Linked DNA regions of Homo sapiens: all the other regions are linked to region 1. Evidence: promoter capture Hi-C in 16 types of primary human blood cells and fetal thymus (Javierre and others, 2016). All regions are on one chromosome and are shown on one strand. Each heading gives the region's core, a stretch centred on a gene start or on the middle of the fragment in contact. The rest is flanking DNA. Distances are from core to core; before and after follow the strand shown. Region 1 holds the start of TBC1D15 (TBC1 domain family member 15). Region 2 has its middle 46 kb from the start of LGR5. Region 3 has its middle 29 kb from the start of LGR5. Region 4 has its middle 13 kb from the start of LGR5.

Region 1 (2,586 bases), core at 52-2,551:
CCAAACTCAAAAGCCTCTAACCCCTCTCCACTGTGTGAAGACGGAAGTACCTCAATGGACACAAGTGTTTTTGGTGAAAGGGACTTTTTATTCTGCCCCGGAGCTAGGGAAATCCCAGATCTGTGCCAGAGTTATCAAGGGGGTAGTATATAATCATTCTCTGCATTCTTTTACAGCACTGAGAACAAGTAAAATTCTTACCTTAGTATCTTTACAAATCATTTTACCACACATGTATTGTCGTATGAAATCCCTACAACCACTCCATGCAGGAGTAATTCCCAGTTTACATCCTGAAGCTCTGATAAATTTAGAAACCTGCTTTAAGTCACAGAGCTAATAAGTAATGTGTAGGTGCTATAAACTATGTGCCTTGGGCTCTGCAGCTATGAGGGCGTGGTATTATCACAGTTCCTATCGAAATACCTTGCTGGAGGTCATGTGTGAGTGGCAGTGACCAGACAAATAGAGAAACCTCATATACAGAGGGGAAAAGTCTCCATGTATAGTGCCTGGGATATCTCCATGTTAGTGCTGCTCTTTCTTGGATCTTCACCGCAACGCCACTATCTTGATTTTACTATAAGAAACTGAGGTTTCGAGTGCACTGGTGATTTGCCTACTGCCACAAAACCAGGCTAATGGGCTGGGCGCGGTGGCTCAAGCCTGTAATCCCAGCTCTCTGGGCAAAGGCTGAAGCGGACGGATCACCTGAAGTCAGGAGTTCGAGACCAGCCTGGGCAACATTGGCGAAATCTCGTCTCTAATAAAAATTTAAAAATTAGCTGGGCGTTTGACGCGCGCCTGTAATCCCAGCTACCCGGGAGGCTGAGGCTTGAGAATCGCTTGAACCGAGTGGCGGAGGCTGCAATGAGCCGAGATCGCGCCACTGCACTCCAGCCTGAGCGACAGAGCGAGACTCCTTTTCTACAACAACAACAAAAAACCAGGACAAATCTTGCTGGCTTCCAGTATGGTATTCGTTTCATCTCACCAAACTGGCGTGGCCTGCGCTAGCTTCAGAGTCTCGACAAACTCCAATACAAGTAAGGTACACATTATTTTAGCAGTCTTCCTTGGGGAGGACGTGGGGCAAGCACAAGCGTAGCGTTAGGCCTGAGACTCCACCCCAGCCGTCTCTGAGCCCAGTTCAGCACGCACGCGTCAGGCGGCTTTTTTCCGCCCGGCTCCTTTCCTCCACTCCCTTCCCGCCACTCCCCGCCCTTTTCCCGCCCGGATGTTATTCTAGTTTTGCCGGATGTTGTTGTATGTCCGAGAGACACGTGAGGTTCTGCTACGTCATTACCAGGCACGCGCAGGAAACATGGCGGCGGCGGGTGTTGTGAGCGGGAAGGTAGGTAACGGCCTCCAGGAAGACCTCGGCTTTTCTCTGGGACGGGGATGCTTTTGCTCCCTGGCAGCTGGTTGGGGGAGGGACACGAGGGACTTTCTGTGTCCGGACAACCCGTGGCGTCTGTAGGAGAAGACTGGGTGGTACCAGCTGGTTTCCCGAGAATGCCAGTTCAGCCGCGGAGTTATAGAGCCGGCTACTGCTCCAAGGCCAGCTAGGCCTCGGCGCTCTTCTGCCCCAGAGCAGAGAGGCTTTTATTCGTATTACCTTTACTAAGGGACAGGTGGCTCTCTAGTTCCTTTTTTCCCCCGATTCACTGTTTCTTGACTCTAGTTCTTTATGTCTACTCTTCTGACTCCAGCGTCTTTTCTCTCTTTGAAGCGTTAACCCGACTTGCCTCTGTCTTCTTTGCTACAGTTTGGTGAAGATGTTTATGCTTCCTTCGGGAGGAGCTGAATAGATGCTAGGCAGCTAGCTGTGCGCTTAGAAGAAACGAGTGTATTGGGTCTGTTTTTACCAAGCTGCTGAGTTGGTTGGTGGTTGTGAGCAGCAGGACGTGTTTCCTGAGAGAAATGGAGATTTACACCATCCTGTGCTTGTCTAGGAAGGCGTCCAAATATTTATTTCCTAGGCATTTCAGTAGGAGTATTGGTCATGCTGGTTTACGGAGGTGGTCAGTGACACGCCTAATTTCGTTGGAAACTAGAATTACGTGCGGAGATTTCGTCGAATAGTGCCTATTCGCGTTCCGAGGGCACATCTTATGCATAGTTAGGGCTATCAGCTTTATGATATGCCACCGATAGTATTTCCCAGTGCAGGAGTATTTCATAAACAGCTGGAATCAACTGAAGTGACTCATCGAACACTAATGGTTGTTTACTCATTGCAGATAGCGTCCTCTGTTCCTTGAGTTTCACTCATGTCTCCCTGTTGCTTTCCCTACCCCATTTTGAATTATTTGACAGCGTTTGTGGTTTGGTGTTTGGAGTATTAGACTAGGCGGCTGAATGACAAATATGGGCTTGGTTTTGCTGTTAATCTGAAGTATGACCTTGGAAAATTGGGCAATTGTGACTTTTGTCTTTTCGCGTTCTTTATCTGTAGAATGGAGGAGATGCCAATCATTATTTCTTGTATTGGAGTTGTTAGGGTTATATAAATTTTTTTTTAAAAAAACATAAAATTACACACTTGTACCTACTGGCTCTTTTAAAGGATAGGTGGGCATCCTT
Region 2 (2,586 bases), core at 26-2,525, 450 kb before region 1:
AGCTTATGACGCAGACTTTCAGCAGTAGCCAGAGGACCCTCTTTTCTGAGGCATAAAACATGGTACTGACTGAAGAGCTAAGGCTAGTGAAGGCAGTCGCTGTGTCCTAAAAGATGTTGTCTACAAAGTGTCCTCTAGTGGTCAAAGGCTATCACTGCATGTTAAAAATAGCAACCTTTCTCTTGTAAGACCATGAATCAGCTCTCACCGGTACTGGGTAGTTAATCTGGTGATTATTATTTTTCAAGTATATAAATGGTTTCCCACTTATCTTGATATCAGGAGACAAAGAAAACAAGGTCATTAAAAGTGTCCTGATTTAGTGGCCAAAAAAGGCGGTAGAGCCTAGCAATTAAAAGCGTGATTAGGAGTTAGGCAGCCTATGTAAATAAAACCTTGCTGTACTTCTTACTCGCTTCGTGACCGAAAAAATGAATTAAACTTTTTGCTTGTCAGTTAACACATCTGTAAAGTGGAGATAACTTTATTACCTCATAGGATAAGCTTCATAATAATCCTATAAGGTAATAAATATTAATCAAATCTGGAGCCACCTTAACTCAGAATCTTTTTTTATGTTATAATAAATTATCCTCACTTTTAAAGCTGCTTTCCATGTGTGTTTTCTACTATTATTTTCAGCCATTGCCATCCTACAAATACACTGACTATTATAAATAAATATTTTAGATTAGAATGTGCAGTCTTACTACAGGCTAGAGTTTAGTGTACTAAGGATTATTCTATTATATAGATTATCTAAGCCACTAACTAGGTAGATGAGAAAACCAAGGCCCTTAGAGTTTCGATGTCCTATCCCAGGTCACACAGTTAATAGAGTTGGGATTGTCTGAAACTCAGTAGGCCTAACTCCCAGTCCAATGCTCATTTATCATATGATTTATTTCACTTTTCTTCCCAATCCATAAAAGTCACCACAGATCACACTCCAGTGCAGAGGGAACCAAGAAACCAACTGCTTCTTCAACATAGTTTCCAGACATGGCAACAATTAACCACTTTTTGTAGGCAGTTAATGGATTAACACAACCGCTAAGATTATAATGAAAAGATACTGGAAGAACCACTGTGAAAGCAAAACATCGGCGAGTTCACATCTTACTGAAACATCAGTAATTAGACATTGATATGTGAAAAAATGTAGGCAAATGATGAAACCGGGTTAATGTACTTACTCCATAGCCAACCCATCAGACTACCTTCACCCACTTCCTGCTTTCAGTCCAGCCCTGATAAGAGTTATTTGGCTGTCATTCTGCCTTCCCTCCAGTTTACCTCCTGCCATCTCTTCTTAAATCTGTAGATATGTAATTTAATGGCATCACTATTGGCCCAATGGCTTAGACCCAAAACCTGTAGTCTCTTTAGATGTCTTTCATATTCCATACCCAAACCATTAGCAAATTCTGAATTTACCTTCAAAATACATTCCAAATCCCATCACTTCTCACCAACTACACAGCTACTACTTTGATCCTTTTCTTCATAAACCTTCACTTTGCTAACTACTACAACTGCCTCATAACAAATACTTTGCTTCCACTCGTCTGTTATAGCCCAAAAAATGCTACATTTAATTATTTCTGTGTTTAAAGCCTCCAGTGGCTTTTTATCACATTCAAAATAAAATCCAAACCTGTTACCTTAGTTTACAAGCCCATCTTAATATGATCCTTGGCTCTACTTTCCAACTGCATGTCCTGTTCATCCCACTCTACACTGCCCTCCTTGCTGCTACTTGAAAAAGCCATGCTTTTTCCCAATTTAGGGGTTTTTGTCTATGCAGTTTCCTCTGCTGAACAGATTTCTCCTCCCAGTATTCCAATAAGTGGCTCTATCGCTTCAGTCAGGTCTCTGCTCAACTGTCTGTCACCTGTCAAAGAAGCAGTCTCTATTTCATCTACATTAGAACACCTATCATTCTATCCCTTCATCCTGCATATTTTTTCTTAAAGCATTTATTATTACCTTACATTATATTACACATTTGTTAACTTTTTATTATTTGTATCTTGCACTAGAAGATAAGCTTTGTGGTGGCACAAACTTGTTTTGTTTACTGATGTTTCCCCAGCTCCTAAAACAGTGCAGAGCACACATTAAGTACTCATAAGTTATAGTCAGAGAAATGAATTAATGCCTCCATATTTCACCTCTTAACTTCTGAGCATTGCCCACTGTTTTCCAGTTTGAAAACATAATCCATGCACTAATTAACTATTCTTAGATGCCGCATCACAATTTGTGGTTCTCCCTCTTTCACTTCAAGTACTGAAAGATACAGATCAATTGCTGGATGTTAAAGTGATCTAATGGTAGAAACTGTCTCTCAGCTATTTATAACCAGGCTACAATGCCTGAAATTCTATAGCAAGCCTCTATAAAATTTCTTCAGCTCTCACAGCTTGCTGTCACCACATTTAAAATTGCTTTATGGGATTGAAAGGTGGAGGCAATTTGTGGTCCTAAGTAAAACTACTTGCTTTCAGTTAGTTTGGCTGTGAAGCAAGAAGATGGTGAGTATCCAGGATGTCAGCTGTGATCAGCTTGTCTTACTATCTTCTG
Region 3 (2,586 bases), core at 30-2,529, 430 kb before region 1:
AATCTCGGCTCACTGCAAGCTCCGCCTCCCAGGTTCACTCCATTCTCCTGCCTCAGCCTCCCCAGTAGCTGGGAGTACAGGCACCCGCCACCACGCCCGGCTAATTTTTTGTGTGTTTTTAGCAGATACCGGGTTTCACCGTGTTAGCCAGGATGGTCTCGATCTCCTGACCTCGTGATCCGCCCGCCTCAGCCTCCCAAAGTGCTCGGATTACAGGTGTGAGCCACCGCGCCCAGCCAAGCAAAAACTTTTTAAAGCAAATGAGGAAATATGAAAATACATAAGTAATATAAAAGAATAAACGATAATATGTAGAGGGACAAGATGGCAGATAGAAAACAGGGTTAACGTGCAGCTCTCACTTGGACAAACAGAACAATGCATGGAGACTCACACCGTTAACTTTTGCTCCAAGAAGCACTGCAGGAATGAACCAGGAAAACCAAAATAGTTCACAGATGCATTGACAGAAGCAGCACACCACTGCGTATTCCATGAGACAGTTGAAAAACTGGCAAGTGCTGGTAACCATGGCTGGCAGACCTGAAGACCAGTCACATCACAGGACTCTTTGCAGATATTCCCCAGCACCAGCTCAGAGTCTGGTAGCCCCACTGGGTGACCAGATCCAGAAAAACAATAACAACCATTGTAGTTCAGCTCTCAGGAACCCCCATCCCTAGGGGAAGTGGAAGAGCATCATATCAAAGGATCAGCCCATGGGACAAAAGAATCTGAACAGCAGGCCTTGCATTCCAGACCTTTCCATTGAAATATTCTACCCAAATGAGAAGAAACCAAAATAGTAATTCTGGTAATATGACAAAACAGAGTTCTACAACACCCCAAAAAGATCACACTAGCTGCCCACCAATGGATCAAACCAAGAAGAAATCTCTGAATTCCCAGATAAAGAATTCAAAAGCTTGATTATTAAGCTACTCAAGGAGATACTAGAGAAAGGTGCAAACCAACTTGAAGAATTTTTTTAAATACAGGATGTGTATGAAAAATTATCCAGAGAAATAGATATCATAAAGAAACAACAATCACAACTTCTGGAAGTGAAAGACACACTTAGAGAAATATAAAATGCACTGGGAAGTTTCAACAATAGACTATAACAAGTAGAAGAGAAAACTGCAGAGCTCAAAGAAAAGGCTTTCAAATTAACCCAATCAGACAAAGACAAAGAAAAAAAATTAATGAGCAAAGCCTCCAAGAACTTTGAAATTATGTCCAACAGCCAAACCTAAGAATAATTGATGTTCCTGAGGAAAAAGAGAAATCTAAAACTTTGAAAAACTTATTTCAGCCAATAATTGAGTGAAACTTCCCTGGCCTTGCTAGAGATCTATACTTCCAAATACAAGAAGCTCAAAGAATACCTGGGAAATTTATTGCAAAAACATCATCACATAGGCACATAGTCATCAGGTTTTCTAAAGTCAACACAAAGGAAAGAAGTTTAAGAGCTGTGAGACAAAAGCATCAGATAACCTATAAAGAAAAACCTATCAGATTAACAGCAGATTTCTCAGCAGAAACTTTACAAGTCAGAAGGGATTGGGATTCCATGATTATCCTCCTGAAGCAAAACAATTGTCAGCCAAGAATTTTATATACAGCAAAACTAAGCTTCATAAATGAAAGAGAGATAAAGTCTTTTTCAGACACTGAATTTGCCACTACCAAGCCAACACTACAAGAAATGCTGTAAAACAATTCTCAATAGTGAAATGAAACTCTGAAGTACACCAAAGTAAAACCTCCTTAAAGCATAAATCTCACACGGCCCATAAAACAATACAATGAAAACACAATGAAAAAGAAAAACAAGGTATTAAGGCAACAACTAACATGATGAATAAAATAGTACCTCACATCTCAATACTAATCCTGAAGGTAAATGAATTAAATGCTCCAATTAAAAGATACAGAATGGCAGAATGAATAAAAATCCACCCACCAAGTATCTCCTGTCTTCAGGAGACTCACCTAACACATAAGGACTGTCATAAACTTAAGGTAAAGGGGTGGAAAAAGATATTCCACGCAAATAGAAACCAAAAGTGAGCAGGAGTAGTTACTCTTATATCAGACAAGACAGACTTTAAAGCAACAATAGTTAAAAAAAAAAAAAAAAGATCAAGAGGGACATTATTTAATGATAAAAGGATTAGTTCAACAGGAAAATGTCACAAACCTAAATATATATGCACCTACTACTGGAGCTCCCAATTTGATAAAAACAATTATGACTAAACCCAAGAAATAAGATAGACAGCAACACAATAATAGCGGGGACTTCAATACTCCACTGACAGTACTAGACAGGTAATCCAGACAGAAAGTCAACAAAGAAACAGTGGACTTAAACTATATCCTAGAACAAATAGACTTAACAGATATTTACAGAACATTCTACCCAACAACTGAAAAATATACATTCTTTCATCAGCACATGGAACATTCTCCAAGACAGACCATATGATAAGTCACAAAACAAGTCTCAATAAATTTAAGAAAATTAAAATTATATCAAGTATCCTCTCAGACCACAATGGAATAAAACTGGAAATTAAT
Region 4 (2,586 bases), core at 65-2,564, 410 kb before region 1:
TCAGCAGTGAACTGTTTGAAAGCAGGTTCCATATGTATTTATTCCCACATTCCCAGTGCTTGGCATCTATTTGGATGGGCAATCAATGTCTTTGAATAAACGCATTCTGGTTAAGATTGGGAACTGAAGCTTCACTAAAACTGGAAACTGTGGCCTGTTAAATGTAACTCAGTAAGAATGTTTCACTAACAAATGTTCCCAACAGAGTTGGCCCCAAAATTTTGTGACATACTCTGCTTTCATGAAATCATGATAAATGTTCAAAGTACTCATATCATTAGGAAAGAAGAAAGGAAGCAAGGAAGGAAGAGAGGAAGGAGAAAGGATCTATTTGTGTGTTTCTGTCCTCCCATTTCTGTAGAGTTGTAAAGACTCTCTTAAGGGGAAAACCCCTAAGGAAAAGAATGAAAAGTCCCTTATTGCTGTTATATAGTAAGTGTTACTTCATGCGAAGCCCTTTAACACACATTAGCTTTCATTCTACTAACAGTTCTACAGACTTGGTGCAATTATCCTCATCTTGCAGATGAAGAAACTCAGAGATAAGTTTCTCCAAGTCTCATAGCTTATAAATGACTGAGTAGAGATTTGAATCCTGGCTTGTGGGAATCCAAAGGCTATATTGTGCTATTATGCCATACTCCCCTTCTACTAGGTGACTCAGCCAATGACCCTCACCCCATCCCACCCATTTCCAGCAATCCTGAGGGGAAAATAGGGAGAAAATATGAGTGAGAAAAGCAGAAAAGATATGAGCAAAACAAATAAAGCTTGGTAAGAAAACAAAAGGGATCATCTCTTTAAAAATGTATTCAGACTTTTTTAAAAACAGCAATGAGATTTATCTTGGCAAACTGCCCATCTAAAATCCAAGCAAAAAAATCAATGAAACTTAAAATCAAAATGTTATTTCTTATTAAAGAACAATGAAAGCAAGCAGGGTCATTTTGTTAATCCACAACCATAATAATACTCGACAAAAGGTTTCTGTAAATTTTAATTGCGGTAATCTGGACAGTGTTTTACTATGACTCATTGACTAGAGCCGCAGTGTTTATGCAATATGTTTTACCCTGCTTTATGAGATTGTAATTGCAGTGAAATGCTACTATACATACTCAATTAAAATACACCAGACTTATCAAAATACAACATTTTGGGAAATAGCATGTTTTTACTTATTTACTTTATAAATCCTGCATGTCCTTGGGATAAAATCCACAAAATTTATTCTTCTAGGTGAGCTTTATCATTCCATCTCCTTACTTTTACTATTTCTGCTCAACACTTCTGATTTTCTCTATTCTGAAATATGCTTACCCACTGTATTTATTCTCTAGCGTTTGAGAGAGTTAAGCCCTAACATATAGAATGCTTTATACTAGCCTTTTCACAAATGTTTGTCAAGAGTGGGAATACAGGGAGTTCTGCAAAGGGGACTGTGCCCTGTACCTGTACTCTGCAAAGGGGACTGTGCCCAGTAATGGCTGCTCATCTCATCTGAGCTGGCTACTTCCTTTCTTCTCTCTCTAGGTTTTCCTCTCAATGACACTTTCCACCTTTTCCTCATACAATGAGTTCTGTTGCTTTTCTGTCTTCTTTTTCTTCAAAAAATAGTTTATTGGATAGGTATTCCATGGTTGGGTGATGTTTACAGATCTACAGTTCCTTAGCCAAAAACATCAGGGTGACAGATGTTACAGAATTCGGAATTTTGGAGGATTTTAGAAATAGAATATATTAAGAGTGATATCCTATATATTACATAAAATCTTCAGTTGGGTTTGGGGAAATACCCTACAATCAAACACATCCATATTTCTGCAGCAACTTCAATGAATATTTACATGACATGAGAGAAAGCTTATAAATAGATTCACATCAGTTCAGTTTAAATGATGCCACCAAATATGTTTCAAAAAAACCTTCCCTTTTCAGAACTCTTAGGATTTCAAAACTGCAGATGAAGGATTTTGGGTCTATACATACTCTAGCTGCAGGACTTGGGGGAAGCAGCTTTGCAAAAAAGGAACCTGTTAGCACTTCATCATTTTGGAGCACAGCCCAAGTTTGTCTGTGCCCTGCCATTTAAGTACGAACACATGGACATGATAGATGGTTAAAAATCCTAAAAGTGAAGTTCTAACAAGACCAGAAAAAGATCCATCACATTGGGCATATGGAAGTATCCACGTCTGGAAATGAAGGTAATATTTGGCAGAATTAAATAAAGCACACAAATGAGCAGGAAGATCATGCAATTTCAAGTATTTTGTTATTTTTTTCTCATTAATTTTATTCCTGGTTTTAAAAGAAAACCTACCCCTAGTTTACATGTGAGTTTGATTGGGCATATGTTCTCAGGAAGCAGGCTGCATACCAGTAGGAGCATGTTCATTATCATACATGGAATTAGACAAGGGGATCAAACAGAGTTAAACAATTGATAATATCATATACCACTGTCCTTTCTTTTCGAACGTTGTGAACATGTGGATATATTTAAAGGTTTCCTTTATGTTGGATAAAATCAAGGACAGATCTGATTGATTTTACATAATAGGCTATTTCAAAGTAATGAATTAG

Evidence for each region. The method cuts DNA at HindIII sites, captures the fragments that hold promoters and counts their contacts. A CHiCAGO score of 5 or more calls a contact.
Region 2: a contact is called between a fragment that was not itself captured here and the fragment with the promoter of TBC1D15 in region 1, in 1 of 17 cell types (activated CD4 T cells). The highest score is 6.9, in activated CD4 T cells.
Region 3: a fragment that was not itself captured here is called in contact with the fragment with the promoter of TBC1D15 in region 1 in 2 of 17 cell types (total CD4 T cells and naive CD4 T cells); the score reaches 5.2 in total CD4 T cells.
Region 4: a fragment that was not itself captured here is called in contact with the fragment with the promoter of TBC1D15 in region 1 in 1 of 17 cell types (activated CD4 T cells); the score reaches 5.4 in activated CD4 T cells.

Annotation. Positions count from the first base shown.
Region 1 is chr12:71,838,458-71,841,043 of GRCh38, forward strand. TBC1D15 (TBC1 domain family member 15) reads left to right here and starts at 1,302. Exons shown (of 17, transcript NM_001146213.3): 1 at 1,302-1,354. The coding sequence starts at 1,325. The HindIII fragment of the contact is 6,842 bases long and covers 1-2,586 here.
Region 2 is chr12:71,392,600-71,395,185 of GRCh38, forward strand. No RefSeq gene overlaps it. Among named protein-coding and RNA genes, the nearest start is that of LGR5, 46 kb to the right of the region's middle. RefSeq lists a silencer at 1-244. The HindIII fragment of the contact is 1,546 bases long and covers 503-2,048 here.
Region 3 is chr12:71,409,469-71,412,054 of GRCh38, forward strand. No RefSeq gene overlaps it. Among named protein-coding and RNA genes, the nearest start is that of LGR5, 29 kb to the right of the region's middle. The HindIII fragment of the contact is 713 bases long and covers 924-1,636 here.
Region 4 is chr12:71,425,811-71,428,396 of GRCh38, forward strand. No RefSeq gene overlaps it. Among named protein-coding and RNA genes, the nearest start is that of LGR5, 13 kb to the right of the region's middle. The HindIII fragment of the contact is 1,093 bases long and covers 769-1,861 here.